Linked DNA regions of Homo sapiens: regions 2, 3 and 4 are each linked to region 1. Evidence: promoter capture Hi-C in human tissues and cell types (Jung and others, 2019). All regions are on one chromosome and are shown on one strand. The core of a region is centred on a gene start or on the middle of the fragment in contact, and the rest is flanking DNA. Distances in the headings are between cores, read along the strand shown.

Region 1 (3,729 bases), core at 663-3,162:
CAGTCGGGTGGATGTTCCTTTCTGTTCCTGGCAACTTGACCCCCCCGTCCCCCCAACCCCATCTCTCCATCTGATTTCATAAAGATCCAGACCTGGGATTCAGAAACGGGGAAGCTGAAGGAGTGTGACCTAAAACAAGAGAAAGACAAGCTATTAAATTGTTATTAGGAATTATAAGACGAGAGAGGCTTGCCTGCTAGAACGTCAAGAAGCAGTATCTTTTCTGTTTTGTACAACGCTGTATTCCCAGCACCTACAACTGTGCCTGCTAAGCCTGGTAAGGCCTAATAATTGTTAAATGAAAAACAATCAATCACTCAATCATAGATGTGTCAGATTGTGAGAGAAAACACGTCCTTACTGTTTTCTCTACCACCCTCCTTCCAGTAATACTAATAAAATGTGCACATTTGTATTCTAAAGAGGTGAAATCATATACACAGCGCTCTAGCACGGTGCCTGGCCCATTGTAATTAATACATGCCAGTTTATTTTCCTTTTCTTCCTCCACAAGTATGGGCTACTAGGGAGGACGAAGGGTTGGTGCCGTGGTGTTTATGTGCCTGGACAGAAAGTGAAGCGTATCCAAGAGGCTGCTGAGAGCGGGCTGTCGGTCTTTCTGATCCGTATAGATCAATTCCAGTGCCCTGAAAAACGCACAGCTATTTTACCCAGAGAGGCTGGTCGCTTTTGTTGATCGATTCTCGGCTGCAGTCAGCTCTTTAATACAACTTTTTATGAGCATCAGCCACATTGCGGCGGGAGGAGGGGCTGTGGTGGAAAAAGCAGGGAAACCGCCCCCCACTCCCAAAAAGTAAAGGAAGCCCGCGGGGCAGGGACTGCGGTTTGCCGGTCTAACGGGTCCTCGAGCTGGGGCGGCGGTCCCGGCCCCTTCGGCCCCGCCCCTCGCCCGCGGCCGCCTCCGAGGTTCAAGTTCGGCCCCCGGCTGTTAGGCCTCGCGCTCCCGGATCTGAAGCCGCCCGTGCGTCCCTAGGTCCCCCGCTGGAAGACGAGGCGGGAATCCCAGGGGTCATCCGGGCGCGGGGTCGCTCGTCCACGCACTGTGGTGCCACGTGGAGGAAAAGTTTCCAACTCTGCCAGTTGGTGCTCCCACTGCGCCCAGGCGGAGCAAAGGCCCGCGCTTTGGCACCCGCTCCCCGTTCTGTCTCCTCCAGTCGCGCCCCCTCCCAGGGACGCCCCCCTTGTACCCCTTCTCTGAATTCCCTTCTCTCCTCGCAGCGCAGGTAGCCAAGGGAAAACACCCTTGGGGGCTGGTGGGGCTTCCCGAGAAGGCGGCCTCGGGCCGGCCAGGGGTAGAGGATCCAGGGACAAGTGTCCCGAGGAGGATGTGGGGGGCGCGCGCGCGAAGTGGCCTGGGAGCAGGGGCCCACACGCGTCCCCGCTGCGACAGGCGGGATCCTCCGGCGGCTTCCACGCCCTGGCGCGCCAACTCTGCCCGGCCGCGGCCGACCCCACGCGGGCGCCCCCTCCACGCCCCCGCCCCCGCCCCCCTCACAGCTCCCCACCGCCCCCAGTGCGCAGGCCCGGCCGCCCCAGCGCGCATGCCCTGGGCTCGCGAGCGCGGCCAGCCCCCAGCCTTTTGCTTTCTACACACTCTACAACTGGGGAGGGGGCGGGGGAGGAGGGAGCCCAGCCGTCCACGTGATCCCGCCGGCCGGGGCCGCGGGGGCGGGAGCGCGCGCCGAGAGAGGCGCGGGGAGGGCGGGTGCGCGGGAGCGCGCGCACTCGAGCGAGCGAGCGAAAGCACGAACGAGCGAGCGAGCGAGCGAGCGAGCGGGCGGGCGCGGGGTTGGGCTGAGGCGGGCGGCGGCGGCGGCGGCGGCGGTGGGCTGGCCGCGGAGGGGGAGGAGCGGGAGCTGCGCGAGGCAGGCGGGCGGGCGGAGGATGGGGCAGTGCCCGGGCTCCCGCTGCAGCCGCCCGGGGACACGCCGTGCACCCTCCGGCTCGGGGCTTTCTCGGCGGCGGCGGCGGCAGCAGCAGCAGCGTTAGCGGCGGCGGCGAGAGCAGCGTTCCCGGCTGCGCTTCTCCCTCAGGCGGGGCGGCGAGAGAAGCGGCGGCGGCGGCGGCGGCACACCGGTGTCTCTCCCGCTGGAGATTTCTTTCTGCTTTCCTCATCGACTGACTGACTCACCCCCTCCCTTTTTTGAGGAAGGGTGACCTCTTCTCTGGGACTGGAAAAAATATTTTTGTGAGGAGGGGGGCGGGTGGCAGCGACAGGGTTTGCTTCTTCTCTTCTTTCATCTCCCTCTCCTCCCCCCTCGAAGACCGAAAAGCAAACCCCACAACTGCTCCAGCAGCATCCTCCTTCCCTTCCTCCGCCTCCCTTCTCCTCCGCCGCTCGCAGTTTCGCCCTCTCTTCCGCTAATGATTGCATTATTATGCTCCCCTCTCTGGGGGGTCTCGCCCCTCTTGGGTCGCTCCGGAGCCCCGGCCTCCCCTGGCTGCATTTCTTAAAAATTTGGGAGCCTGGGAGTGAGTTTTCTCCGAGGCGTGTGTGAGAGGCGGCGGGGGTGTTTTCCTGCGCGAGGGGCGGGTGAAGTTCATTGCCCCCACTTTTCCCGCGACCTTTTTCGGACCCGATTTTGGATCGAGTTGAGGGGGGCGCGGGCGTTTTCGGGGGGCGGGGGGCGCGGCGGAGAATGGCCGCGGGGAGGGCTCCCCGGAGCCTCCCAGTCTCTTGATCAAAGCATTCCGCTATTCTGATTTATTGCTTGCTTGGTGAGTTATTTTTTTTTCCTCTAAAGGAGACCTGTGTGTTCAGCCATTACTTTGCTCGGCGCTGCTCCCAGGCATCTCCGACCCTCGGTGCTGTGGGGAGCCCCACACTTGGGCTCCTCGCCTCTCGCCCTCGCTCCCCGTCCCTCCTCCCCTCTCTCCGCCCCTTCCCCCTTTTCTTTCTCCTCTCTTTCTTCCCCTCTCTCCCTTCTTTCGGCCGCCGTCTCCCCCGCGCCCTCCTCGGGGCGGAGGGAAGCCGTGAAGGGGGAGGGAGGGCTCGGTGTCAATTTTTTTTTGTGTGGCTGCGGCCGTAGCCTGTGGCGGGCAAGCGGGGAGACCCCGGCGCAGCAGAACCATGGATGGCCCGACGCGGGGCCATGGACTCCGCAAAAAGCGGCGGTCGCGGTCGCAGCGAGACCGGGAGAGGCGCTCCCGGGGCGGGCTGGGGGCCGGCGCGGCCGGCGGCGGCGGGGCTGGCCGGACCCGGGCGCTCTCACTCGCCTCGTCGTCGGGCTCCGACAAGGAAGACAATGGGAAGCCCCCGTCCTCCGCCCCGTCCCGGCCCAGACCCCCGCGGAGGAAGCGGAGAGAGTCCACCTCGGCAGAAGAGGACATCATTGATGGATTTGCCATGACCAGCTTTGTCACTTTTGAAGCGCTGGAGGTAAGGGGGACCCCCCTTCCCCCGGGTTCCCTTTATGCACGACCCCACTCGGCTGCGCCCGGCTCTCCTGCCTCCCTCGCCGCGCTCCGGGCTGTCTGTCTGTCTGTCTGTCTGTCTGTCTGTCTAGGCTGAGGTCTTATTGTTGGTGGGGGGAGCTGGGGGCGCGGGCAGACAGGCAGCAGGAGGGAGTCGCAAAGCCGTGCCTGGTCTCGTTTCCTCGCTCGCCTTTCCCCTGCGCCCCCTCCCTGCACCCCCTCCACAGCAGATGGGCAGAAAGAAAGGGGTTCGGGCATCACAACAATGCGCCCCCTCTCCACAGAGAGCTCTGC
Region 2 (3,729 bases), core at 446-2,945, 250 kb after region 1:
GTACTCCAGTGCAACAGGGTGACACTCTGTCTCAAAAAAACAAAAACAAAAACAAAAACAAAAAAACCCGGAGGTTGCAGTGAGCCCGGATCATGCTACTGCACTCCAGCCTGGGCAACAGAGCGAAACTCTGTCTCAAAAAAAAAAAAAAAAAAAAAAAAAAAAAAAAAAAAAGTCAGACTTTTCCAGAGTGACTGTACCATTGTACATTCCCAGCAGCAGTGTATGAGGGAATCAGCATCCTTGCCAGGATTTGGAATTGTTGCTGTTTTTTAATATGGCTGTTCTGATAGGTGTGTAATGATATCTCATTGTGATTAATTTGGATTTCCCTAATGGTTAGTGATGGCAGACATTTTTATGTGCTTATTTGCCATTTGTATGTCCTCTTTGATGAAATGTCTGTTCATGTCTTTTGCCCATTCTTTTGGATTATTTGACTTTTACTGTTAAGTTTTGAAATGTTCTTTATGTATTCTAGATATCAGTATCTTGTCTGATGTATGGTTTGCAAATATTTTCTCAGTCTGGAGCTTGGCTTTTCATTATTATAACAGGATGCTTTGCAGAGCAAAGGTTTTTAATTTTGGTGAGGTCAAATTTATCAGCATTTTATTTTATGGAGTATGCTTTTGATGTCATGTCTAAGAAACTCTTCACCAAACCCATAGGTCCTGAAGATTGGCTCCTATGTCTTCATCAGAAGCTTAAGCTTTACATTTTACATTTAAATGTATGACCCATTTTAAATTAAGTTTTGTGTAAGTATGAGGTTTAGGTTGAGGCTTATTTATTTTTTGCCTATGAATAATCTAATTGCTTCAACACTGTTTAAAAGGCATTTCTTCTAACATTGAATTGCTTTTGGATCGTTGTCAAATATCAGTTGGCCATAGTTTTGTGGGACTGTTTCTAGGTTCTCTATTCTGTCCGTTGATCTGCGTGTCTGTCCCTTCGCCAGTCCCTTACTGTATTGATTACAGTATAACTATTTAGTAAGTTTTGAAATCATATAGAGTGATTCCTCTTACTGTATTCTTTTTTGTTAATAGTTTCAGGTATTCTAGTTTCTTTCCATGTAAATTTTTAGAACAATCTTGAACGTATTTACAAAAATTTTGCAGGGATTTTGATAGGAATTATGATGAATACTTTTATTTTTATGTTTTGTAGAGACAGTGTCTCGCCATGTTGCTCAGGCTGGTCTTAAACACCTGGACACAAGCAATCCCCCCACCTTCGCCTCCCAAAGTGCCAGGATTACAGGCGTAAGCCACTGCGCCTGGCCCATATGTGAAATCTGCATATCAATTTTGGGAGATTTGATATCTTTGCTATACTGAACTTTCCCATCCATGAACACTATATGCCTTTCCTTTTATTTAGATCATCTTTGATTTCTTTCCATCAGCAATTTGTAGTTTTTAGCATACAGGTCCTATACATCTTTTGTTAGATTTGCATCTAAATATTTCATTTTTCTGAGACATTATACATAACATTGTAATTTTGATTTTGCTTTTCCTGTGTTCATTGTTAGTATATTGAAATACAATTTGTTTTTGCATGTTGGTCTTCAACTTTGCAGAGTTGACTTCTAGGAGTTTTTATTTAGATTTTTTGGGATTTTTGTAAGCATATCATCTATACGAGCATGTCATCTATAAACAGGGACAGTTTTATTATTTACTTTCTGATATACCTTTTCCTTTTATTGCCTTATTATGCTGGTTGGAGCTTCAGTACTATGCTGAATAGTGGTAGTGAGAGTGGACATGCTTGTCTTGTTCCAAATCTGAAGTGAACAAGCATTAGGTCTTTCCCTACTAAATTTGATGTTAGTTGTAGGTTTTTGGGTAGTTGTTCTTTGAAGCTGAGGAAATTCCTTTCTATTCTTGGTTTTTATAAATATGTATTGAATGCTTTTTTGCATCAACTATGATGGATTATGTTGATTGGTTTTTGAATATTGAACCAGCTTTGCATCCCTGGAATAAATCCCATTTGGTCAGGATGTATAATTCTTTTTATATATTGCTAAATTTTGTTTACTAATATTTTGTTAAGGACTTTTGTGTTTATAAGAGGTAGTATGTGATTTTTTTTTTCTTTGCTGGTATTTTTAGGGTAATAGTAGCTTCATAAAAATTGGAAAGTGTCTGCTTTCCCTGTTTTCTTTTCTTTTTTTTCGAGACAGAATCTCACTCTGGAGTGAGATTCAGATTCAGATTCCTAGGCTGGAGTGCAGCGGCTCAATCTCTGCTCACTGCAACCTCCGCCTCCTGGGCTCAAGCGATTCTCCTGCCTCAGCCTCCTGAGTAGCTGGGATTACAGGTGCCTGCCACCATGCCCGGCTAATTTTTGTATTTTTAGTAGAGACAGGGTTTCACCATGTTGGCCAGGCTGGTCTTGAACTCCTGACCTCAGATGATCCATCCATCTCAGCCTCCCAAAGTGCTGGGATTATAGGTGTGAGCCACCGTGCCCGGCCCCTGCTTTTCTAATGTTATCATTTATTGCTAAAAGTTTACCGTTAGTACTGCTTGTGTCCCCTAAACTTGGTATGTTGTAATTTCATTTTCATTCAGTTCAGGTCATTGTTTAAGTTATTTTGAGGCTTCCTGTTTGACCCATAGATTATTTGCCAGTGTGTTTTTTAGTTCCCAAGTTTTTTTAGATTTTCCTGTTATCTTTCTGTTATTTATGTCTGCTTTTCTTTCATTGTGGTCAGAGAATACACTGTATATGATTTCAGTTCTTTTAAATTTGCTAAGGTTTGTATTATATCCCAGGATATGGTCTATGTTATTTGTTCTGAGGTCATTTAAAAAAAAATGTGGCTTATGCTTTGTTAAGTGTAGTGTGCTATAAATGTCAGTTAGATCCTAGCCTGTTGATGGCATTGTTGAAATCTTTTACATTTGCTGATTTTCTGTCTAGTTGCTCTATCAATTAATTGTTGATAAAGGGGCATTTTAGTCTCCAACTACCTTTTGTCTATTTCTCTTTTCAGTTCTGTCAGTGTTTGCTTCACACTTTACAACTCCATTTTTTTGCCACAAATACATTTGGGATTACTATATTTGCTTGATTGATTGACTTACATATCATTTTTAATGTCCCTCTCTGTTTCTACTAATTTTCTATGTTCTGAAGTCTACTTATTTTATTCATGTAGGTACTCCTGTTTTCTTTTGACTGTTTTCATTGTATATATTTTTCATATTTTTACTTTTTACATATATTTATCATTATACTTGAAGTGAGTTTATGGATAGCATATAGTTCATGCTTTTTTATTCATTCAACCAATCTGTATTTTAATTGGTATATTTAGTCACTGTACCTTTAATGAAATTATTGGTGTGTTAGAAGACCCAGGCAGCTCATCACTTTGAAGTTCCTTGCATCCTAAGGTCCCTAGCAGTTCTGCCTGTTCTCTCTACCTTCAAGAATCTTTTAATGTTCATGTTATATATATAACACCCAGGAATTGTTTTACTGTACTTAGCAGAAATGATAGGAAAAGTACATCTGTTCCATCTTTCTGGAACTGCTTCTTTACTTTTAAAATTAAAAAAAATTATTGATACACCTATACCACAATATTGCTGTAAGTGAGATGAAAGTGAAAAAGGATTCAACATTTAAATTCTATTTGGACATCAGTTATTATATCTAAGTGATATATGAAATCATGTTGCTCTAGAACAATATTAACAGATTTTA
Region 3 (3,729 bases), core at 640-3,139, 190 kb after region 1:
TAGCTAGAGGATTGCAAATGCACCAATCAGTGCTCTGTGTCTGGCTAAAGGATTGTAAATGCACCAATCAGCACTCTGTAGAAATGCAGCAATCAGCACTCTGTGTCTAGCTAAAGGATTGTAAATGCACCAATCAGCACTCTGTTAAAATGCACCAATCAGCGCTCTGCGTCTAGCTAAAGGATTGTAAATGCACCAGTCAGCACTCTGTAAAAACGCACCAGTCAGCGCTCTGTGTCTAGCTAAAGGATTGTAAACGCACCAGTCAGCACTCTGTAAAATGGACCAATAGCACTGTGTAAAATGGACCAATCAGTAGGACATTGGTGGGGAAAAATAAGGGAATAAAAGCTGGCCACCCCAGCCAGCAGTGGCAACCCGCTTGGGTCCTCTTCCATGCTGTGGAAGCTTTGTTCTTTCACTCTAAATCTTGCTGCTACTCACTCTTTGGGTCCGTGCCACCTTTAAGAGCTGTAACACTCACCACGAAGGTCTGTGGCTTCATTCTTGAAGTCAGCGAGATCAAGAACCCACCAGAAGGAACTAACTCTGAACACAAGGTGATCCACCCGCCTCGGCCTCCCAAAGTGCTGGGATTACAGGCCTGAGCCACCGTGCCTGACCTGTCACAATGATTTTTTAAACTGCATATCTTAATCCATTAGTGGGTGACAGTCAGAATTTTATTTTATTCAGTTTAAAAAATAGAATCAAATAGATGACATCAGAGTATACTACACTTAGTGTGTGTATTGTTTCAAAAAAACTTGTTTTAAGTGTATGTGCATGCAGGCAGACATCAGAAATTTTTATGTGTCATGCTCTAAAAAGTTTGAAAACAAGCCTATCAGTTGAGGTTTGGTATCATTTATAGGCAAGTAAACTGAAACTCTGAGGTTAAGGACGTTGCCTACTATCAGAACTAAAATTTGAACTCAGCTCTTTCTGGCTTTCAGCATTTGATCCAATTATGTTTCTCACAGAGCTTTCCCTCTCTAATGGTTTTCCAAGACTCTTGAGATCACAGAGACACTGATTTGCTCCTGACGTTGTTCTAAAATCAGAGGAGGAACATGCACTCTGATGACCAGACCCAAGTTTGACTGGTTTCTCAAAACATCTTTACATAACATAGTCTATTTCAGGAGAAGGGAAAAGAAAGATGACTCTAGAACTTGTCTTTATTAAGAAACAAGGAAAATCTAGACACTCTTTTTCTGTCATAGAAAGATAGCCTAGTTTTACCAGAGAGGAGAAATTCTAACCAGAAGTAGTATCAGGATCTTTCTCTCTAAAGCACTTAAAGTCTTTTGTTGGCGAGACGAGTAGAGCAAGAGGAATCTGCCACCTTGTGTAAAACATTTTGGTTTTACTAGTCAGGCATATTTTTGAATAACCTTCACTAGCATTTATTATAGTAGTTATTTTATTTTATTTTGACACAGAGTCTCACTCTGTTGCCTAGGCTGGAGTGCAGTGGCATGATCTCTGCTCACTGCAACCTCCACCTCCTGGGTTCAAGTGATTCTCCTGCCTCAGCTGTAATCCCAAGAAGCTGGGATTACAGGCGTGCCACCATACCCAGCTAATTTTTGAAGCCTCTATTTTAGTTTCCCCCAACTTTACTAGAGATGGGGTTTCACCATGTTGGCCAGGGCTGGTCTCGAACTCCTGACTTCAGGTGATCCGCCCACCTTGGCCTCCCAAAGTGCTGGGCTTACAGGCGTTGAGCCACTGCGCCTAGCTGTTACAACATTTTGGCACCAGTTTTACCTACTTCCCCAGCCTCCTAGGAATGAAGTGGAACTTTTATTAAGGACAGATTTTTCAGAGGGGCATTATTCTCACTGGCATTCCTTCCCTCTTGCCTGGAATCACCCTTGAATGAATTCCTGATTGGTTCAGCTAGACTTTTTCTTTTACAGAAGAAATTGCTCTTGGTGAAGATGCCAGAAAAATATCGTAAAAACCTGCTCTCTTATCCTCTTCTCTGTACTACTTTGTTACCCCACCCCACCCCACCTCAAGCCCCCAGTAAAAAATGACCTTTTGGCCCAGGGCCCTATCTGAGTATATTGTGTGGCAGAGTTGTCTCTGGCTGACTCCCAGGATTGTTAATGACTTCCTTCTCTGTCCCTAAATAATTGCTTGAAAAGACAGCTGTGGAGAGACATTGCCCCCAGCTTGCAGGCTCATTAATTCAGCCCTATGAAAGAGGGTGCAAAGGAAGAAGGTGGAAGTTACTTTGCCAAGAGTAGCAGGCTTGGGGGAAACTAAAATAGAGGCTTCAGGGGAAGGGCAGCAGCATGGTGTCAGAGATTACACTTGGAGTTTGTGAAGTCTGGGCAGGCTTCAATCTAAAGAAACTTTATGCACAAAAGCCCAAATCCAGGGAAATAAATGAAAGTGATTATTCACTTTTCTAAAGTCCTTACAGTAGCGTTCCTCTGGTATTGTTTGAATACAGTTTAACCTGAAGGGCACTTGGTTTTTGTGCAGCTCTTCAAGAACAGAAGCATCTAAGTAAGTAGAAAGTCTGAGAAATTAACAGAGAAGATTCCCTAAAAGTCAGCCTTCATTACTTGACCATTATTCATAATTCTGCATTTGTCTATTCCTCCAGTGGCCTTGAAGCAAAATTAAAAAAAAAAAAAGACACTTCTATGCCCCTTAAAAAAAGAATAATCAAAACTTGCATAGACAGAATAAGAATCAAATACACTGGGGAACAAATACTCTGATTAGCTGTCCGGTTCAGCTCTGACGCGTCTAGCACTCTGAGTTATAAGGGAAACGATAGGACACTTGGTTTTTGTTTTCCAACAACAGGAAACATATCAGGTTTCTAAGAAGATGTAAAGTCTTTCTTAAAACCCAATTATAGAAGGAATTTATGCAAGTCTTTAGGCAAGGAGTATTAAAGAAATTAATGTTTAATGCCATCAACAAGTTTTCAAGCAGATGCAGAACTCCTAGTGTGGGTGACTTTTTGGTGTTTACCTTATATCAAGAATGCAGCATTTAAGGCCACTTTGACAGAGTGCAGCTAAGCTTTTTGGGTTTGCTTGTGTGGACAATTTCCATTCAGCAATGGCTCTCAAACTTCAATGCACATCAGAATTACGTGGGGGCACTTAAAAAAAATGTATGCCCAGGCTGCATCCAGACCAATTCAGTCAGAATCTCTGATGGTGAGCCCCAAGTATCAATATTTTGTAAAACTGATTCCAAAGGTTAGCTAAGTGTGAATCAGTGCGTTAGATGATCTTTAACGTTAATTATCTTAGCTGGATTTCTCAAAGGGGTAGTCCTAGAATGCTGATATTCCCTGTTATTAATTTAAGTAAGTCCCTGTTGTTTCTGTTAACATTCTCTTAGAACTCTGAGACTTGTATTTCTGCTGGGACCCAGGGCTACTGCACCTTTCTTGGCCTATAGGAGTGTTGTCAGAACCAAAGTACTTGTTAAGCAGCAGCTTAGGATCAACATTAGCAGACCTCATTGTGGCTGTTGGAGAATATAGAACATCAGATGAAGTAGGGGCTTGACGTTTCCACAGCCCTAAATCACATATTTCAGAGTACGTTAAGATTCCTTTTGGAACTCAGATCTTTTTCTGGCCATGGATAGACTGTTGTCTTGGGGGGATGCCAGTTGTCTCTCCAGTGAGAAAAGGAGATGTTTATGTATTCTCTAGTTCCCTTCTGGAAGTTAAAAATACCTGTCATT
Region 4 (3,729 bases), core at 787-3,286, 150 kb before region 1:
TAATTGAATCATGGGGGCTGTTTCCCCCATTGTGTTCTCATGGTAGTGACTAAGTCTCACGAGATCTGATGGTTTTATAAATGGGAGTACTGCACAAGCCCTCTTGCCTGCTGCCATGTAAGACATGACTTTGTTCCTCATTTGCATTCAGCCATGATTGTGAGGCCTCCCCAACCATGTGGAACTGTGAGTCCATTAAACCTTTCTTCTTTATAAATTACCCAGTGTCAGATATGTCTTTATTAGCAACGTGAGAACAGGCTAATACATTTGGGCTGCCATAATAAAATACTACAGACTAAGTAGCTTAAATAACAGAAATGTGGTTTCTTACAGTTCTGGAGGCCGGAAGTTCGAGATCAAGATGTTGGCACTGTTGGTCCATTCTGAGACCTGTCACCTTGGTTTGCAGACGGCCGCCTTCTCACTGTGTCCACAGGTGGCCTTTCCTCTGTGGGCGAGTGCCCCCAGTGTCTCCGTGTCCAAATCTTCTCTTCTTATAAAAACACCAGTCAGATTGGATTAGGACTCACCCTATGGCCCCATTTTTAACTTAATCACCTCTTTAGAGATTCGATCCCCAGATACAGTCACATTGTGAGGTACTGGGGGTTAGGACCTCAGCATATAGATTTGGGGAGAGGACATAATTTTGTCCATAACAGTATGAACTCTGTGGTCATACCAGTTGCTAACTTACTCACACCACTGCATGCCAGCCTGGGTGACAGAGTGAGACTCTGTCTCTAAAAAAGAAAAAGAAGAAAAGAGAAAAAAAGCCTAAACCACTAACCGTTACTATTTCTAAAGCTGAAGCAAAACAGGTGAGTTATAAATAACTCTTAATTTCTCATTTTTTTTTTTAAATCCTGGGTGTAGATAAAGACCAAGCTAGAACCAAAAGCTTCAGAGAAATAAGTTGGCTTCAGGTAGGAGCGTGGCCTTTGAGTCAAAATGCCAACCTGGCTGTGTCCCTCACCCTGCCCCCAACCTCTTCACCGTCTGTCAGAACAGCTGCCAGCCAGTGGTCTCTACAGGTTTCCAGCAAATATTCATTCTTTGCACAGAGGAGGCAAATATCTGAGACTGGAAACAAATTTCTTGAAGTTACTTAGGTCCTTTACCTAAGTTAAGTTGAGCTGTTTTATTTATTTGATAGAGTCTCACTCTGTCTCCCAGGCTGGAGTGCAGTGGCGCAATCTGGGCTCACTGCAACCTCTGCCTCCTGGGCTCAAGCAATCCTCATGCCTCAGCCCCCCGAGTAGCTGAGATTACAGGGACATGCCACCACGCCCAGCTAATTTTTGTATTTTTAGTAGAGATGAGGTTTTGTCATATTGCCCAGGCTGGTCTTGAACTCCTGCCCTCAAGTGATCTGCCTACCTTGGCCTCCCAAAGTGCTGGGATTACAGGCATGGCCACCTCACCTGGCCCAAGTTGAGCTGTTTTAAACAGTGCTTGGAGAAAATGTTTTTTCCAAAAATTACTACCAAGTTCTTTCTAAATACTTTATAGTGCATGGTTTCTAAATGACCTATAATAATTAAAATTTAATAAGAGCAAACATTTATTATTTACTAGGTTCTAGGCACTATGTTAAGTACTTTATAGGTATCTCAATTAGTTATCACAATTGTATGATAGAAGCAGGGGTGTCTTTGTCCATTTTGCATTGCTGTAAAGGAATACCTGAGGCTGGGTAATTTATAAAGAAAAGAGGTTTATTTGGCTCACGGTTCTGCAGGCTGTACAGAAGCATGGTGCCAGCATCTGCTTCTAGTGAGGACCTCAGGAAGCTTCCAGTCATGGTGGAAGGCAAAGGGGAGCCAGTGTGTCACATGATGAGACGAGAGAGGGAGCAAGAGAGAGGCGGGAGGAGGTGCCAGACACTTATGGTTTTTTCGTTCAGACTGGATCTCACTCGTCACCCAGGCTGGAGCAAGGTGGTGTGAACATGGTTACTCTAGCTTTGACCTCCTGGGCTGAAGTGATCCTCCTGCCTCAGCCTCCTAAGTATCTGGGACTATAGGCCTGCATGACCCTCCCTGGCTAATTTTAAAAATTTTTTTGTGTGGAGACAGGATCTTGCCATGTTGCTCAGGCTGGTCTTGGATTTCTGGGCTCAAGCAATCCTCCAGCCTCAGCCTCCCAATGTGTTGGTATTACAGGCGTGAGCCACCATGCCTAGCCTCTTAGATTCTTTTAAACAATCAGATCTCTAGGGAACTAGTGGACTGAGAACTCATTTATTACCTTAAGGAGGGCACCAAACCATTCATGAAGGATTGCCCCCCATGATCCAAACACCCAAACACCTTCTGCCAGGACCCACCTCCAACATTGGGGATTAATTTTTTGGGGGGTTTTTTGGGTTTTTTTTTTTTGTTTTTTTTTTAAGGCAGAGTCTTGCTCTGTCATCCAGGCTGAAGTGCAGTGACGCAATCTCGGCTCACTGCAGCCTCAAATTCCTGAGCTCAAGCAATCCTCACGCCTCAGCCTCCTGAGTAGCTTGGACTCATAGTGCATGTCACCATGCCCAGATAATTTTTTAAATTTTTTATAGAGATGAGGTCTCACTTTGTTGCCCAGGTTGGTTTCGAACTCCTGGGCTCAAGTGATCCTTCTGCCTTGGCTTCCCAAAGTACTGGGATTACAGGCATGAGCCACCACCACGCCTGGCTGTTGTTTTTTTTTCAAGTGACAAATTTTCATCACCTCTCCAAGGCCACCTGCATGCCCGTGTGTGTTTCACAGTGCACAGCATTTAACTGCATTCATCGGCTGTGCTAATCCCACTCGCTCGTTTGCCCAAGTCATGCCAAAACCATCAGGTCAGCTCAGTGCTTCCCTCTCACTTGGCCTGTGATTTTGATGTCATCCCCACCTCCACCTCTCAGAACTGTGTGTTCAAAGAAAGACCTTGGATTCCAACTTCTATCTGCCCAGACTCATCTTTGCTAGAACTGTGACTTCCAGACCTCTCCCTCTCTCCCTCTGTGCTCCTGATTCAAATTTTAAAATTCCCCCAGGAGGTGACTCAAATCAGTAGGAGGAGACGTGTTCCAGAAATGATCCGGGAGGGTTTTGTCAGTAGGTCTGACCAACAAAACTGCTCTGCACCGGCAAACGCACGAACGTGGCCTTGCTGTAACAAGAACAGAGAGGCTTCGGCCTGAGCAGCACCAGGTCTGCCCTGCGCAGCAGTGGGGCATAAGTACGATGGCTGATAAAAGAACAGGGAGCCTGGAATGATCTGATAAGAAGCAGGCCCCGCTGCAGAATCTTAAACAGAGCAAGGGCGTGATCAGAATGGTGATGGGGACTCCATTCTATGGGCTGGGTGACTGGAGAAGGTAAGAGGCAGCAGAGAGGACAGTCAGGACAGACACTACAGCAATCAGCGTGACGGGGACAGACGGATCCTGACTTATGACTGTGGGAACAGACACAGCTGGGAGTCTTCAAAGAGCAGTTGTAGGGAAGGACAATGACTTGGTGGTTGTCTGAATATGGGGTGTAGAAGGCATAGGAATAACAAGTGCCAAGTTTCTCCCCCGAGGAATAAAGAGAGTGCTGGAGCTGGAATCAGGGCACTCAGAAATCGATTGAGAGGCCAGGGCAGTGGCTCATGTCTATAATCCCAGCGCCTTGGAAGGCCAAAGCGGGAGGATCGCTTGAGGCCAGGACATCAAGACCAGCCTGGGCAACATAGTGAGACCTTGTCTCTAC

What was found. Contacts are between HindIII fragments. The study calls those that stand out against the background at their distance.
Region 2: a fragment that was not itself captured here is called in contact with the fragment with the promoter of AUTS2 in region 1 in 1 of the 25 tissues and cell types used here (lymphoblastoid cells).
Region 3: a fragment that was not itself captured here is called in contact with the fragment with the promoter of AUTS2 in region 1 in 2 of the 25 tissues and cell types used here (dorsolateral prefrontal cortex and lymphoblastoid cells).
Region 4: a contact is called between a fragment that was not itself captured here and the fragment with the promoter of AUTS2 in region 1, in 1 of the 25 tissues and cell types used here (dorsolateral prefrontal cortex).

Annotation. Positions count from the first base shown.
Region 1 is chr7:69,596,563-69,600,291 of GRCh38, forward strand. It overlaps AUTS2 (activator of transcription and developmental regulator AUTS2), which reads left to right and starts at 1,913. Exons shown (of 19, transcript NM_015570.4): 1 at 1,913-3,400. The coding sequence starts at 3,092. CT66 (cancer/testis associated transcript 66) reads right to left here and starts at 1,062. Exons shown (of 3, transcript NR_148927.1): 1 at 485-1,062; 2 at 93-129. RefSeq lists enhancers at 1,083-1,162, 2,343-2,392 and silencers at 1,473-1,892, 1,913-1,992, 3,157-3,226. The HindIII fragment of the contact is 7,960 bases long and covers 1-3,729 here.
Region 2 is chr7:69,850,262-69,853,990 of GRCh38, forward strand. All of the region lies in intron 1 of AUTS2 (activator of transcription and developmental regulator AUTS2), which reads left to right. Among named protein-coding and RNA genes, the nearest start is that of AUTS2, 250 kb to the left of the region's middle. The HindIII fragment of the contact is 5,304 bases long and covers 1-3,729 here.
Region 3 is chr7:69,786,130-69,789,858 of GRCh38, forward strand. The region is part of intron 1 of AUTS2 (activator of transcription and developmental regulator AUTS2); the gene reads left to right. Among named protein-coding and RNA genes, the nearest start is that of AUTS2, 190 kb to the left of the region's middle. The HindIII fragment of the contact is 5,822 bases long and covers 1-3,729 here.
Region 4 is chr7:69,442,603-69,446,331 of GRCh38, forward strand. No RefSeq gene overlaps it. Among named protein-coding and RNA genes, the nearest start is that of CT66, 150 kb to the right of the region's middle. The HindIII fragment of the contact is 6,974 bases long and covers 1-3,729 here.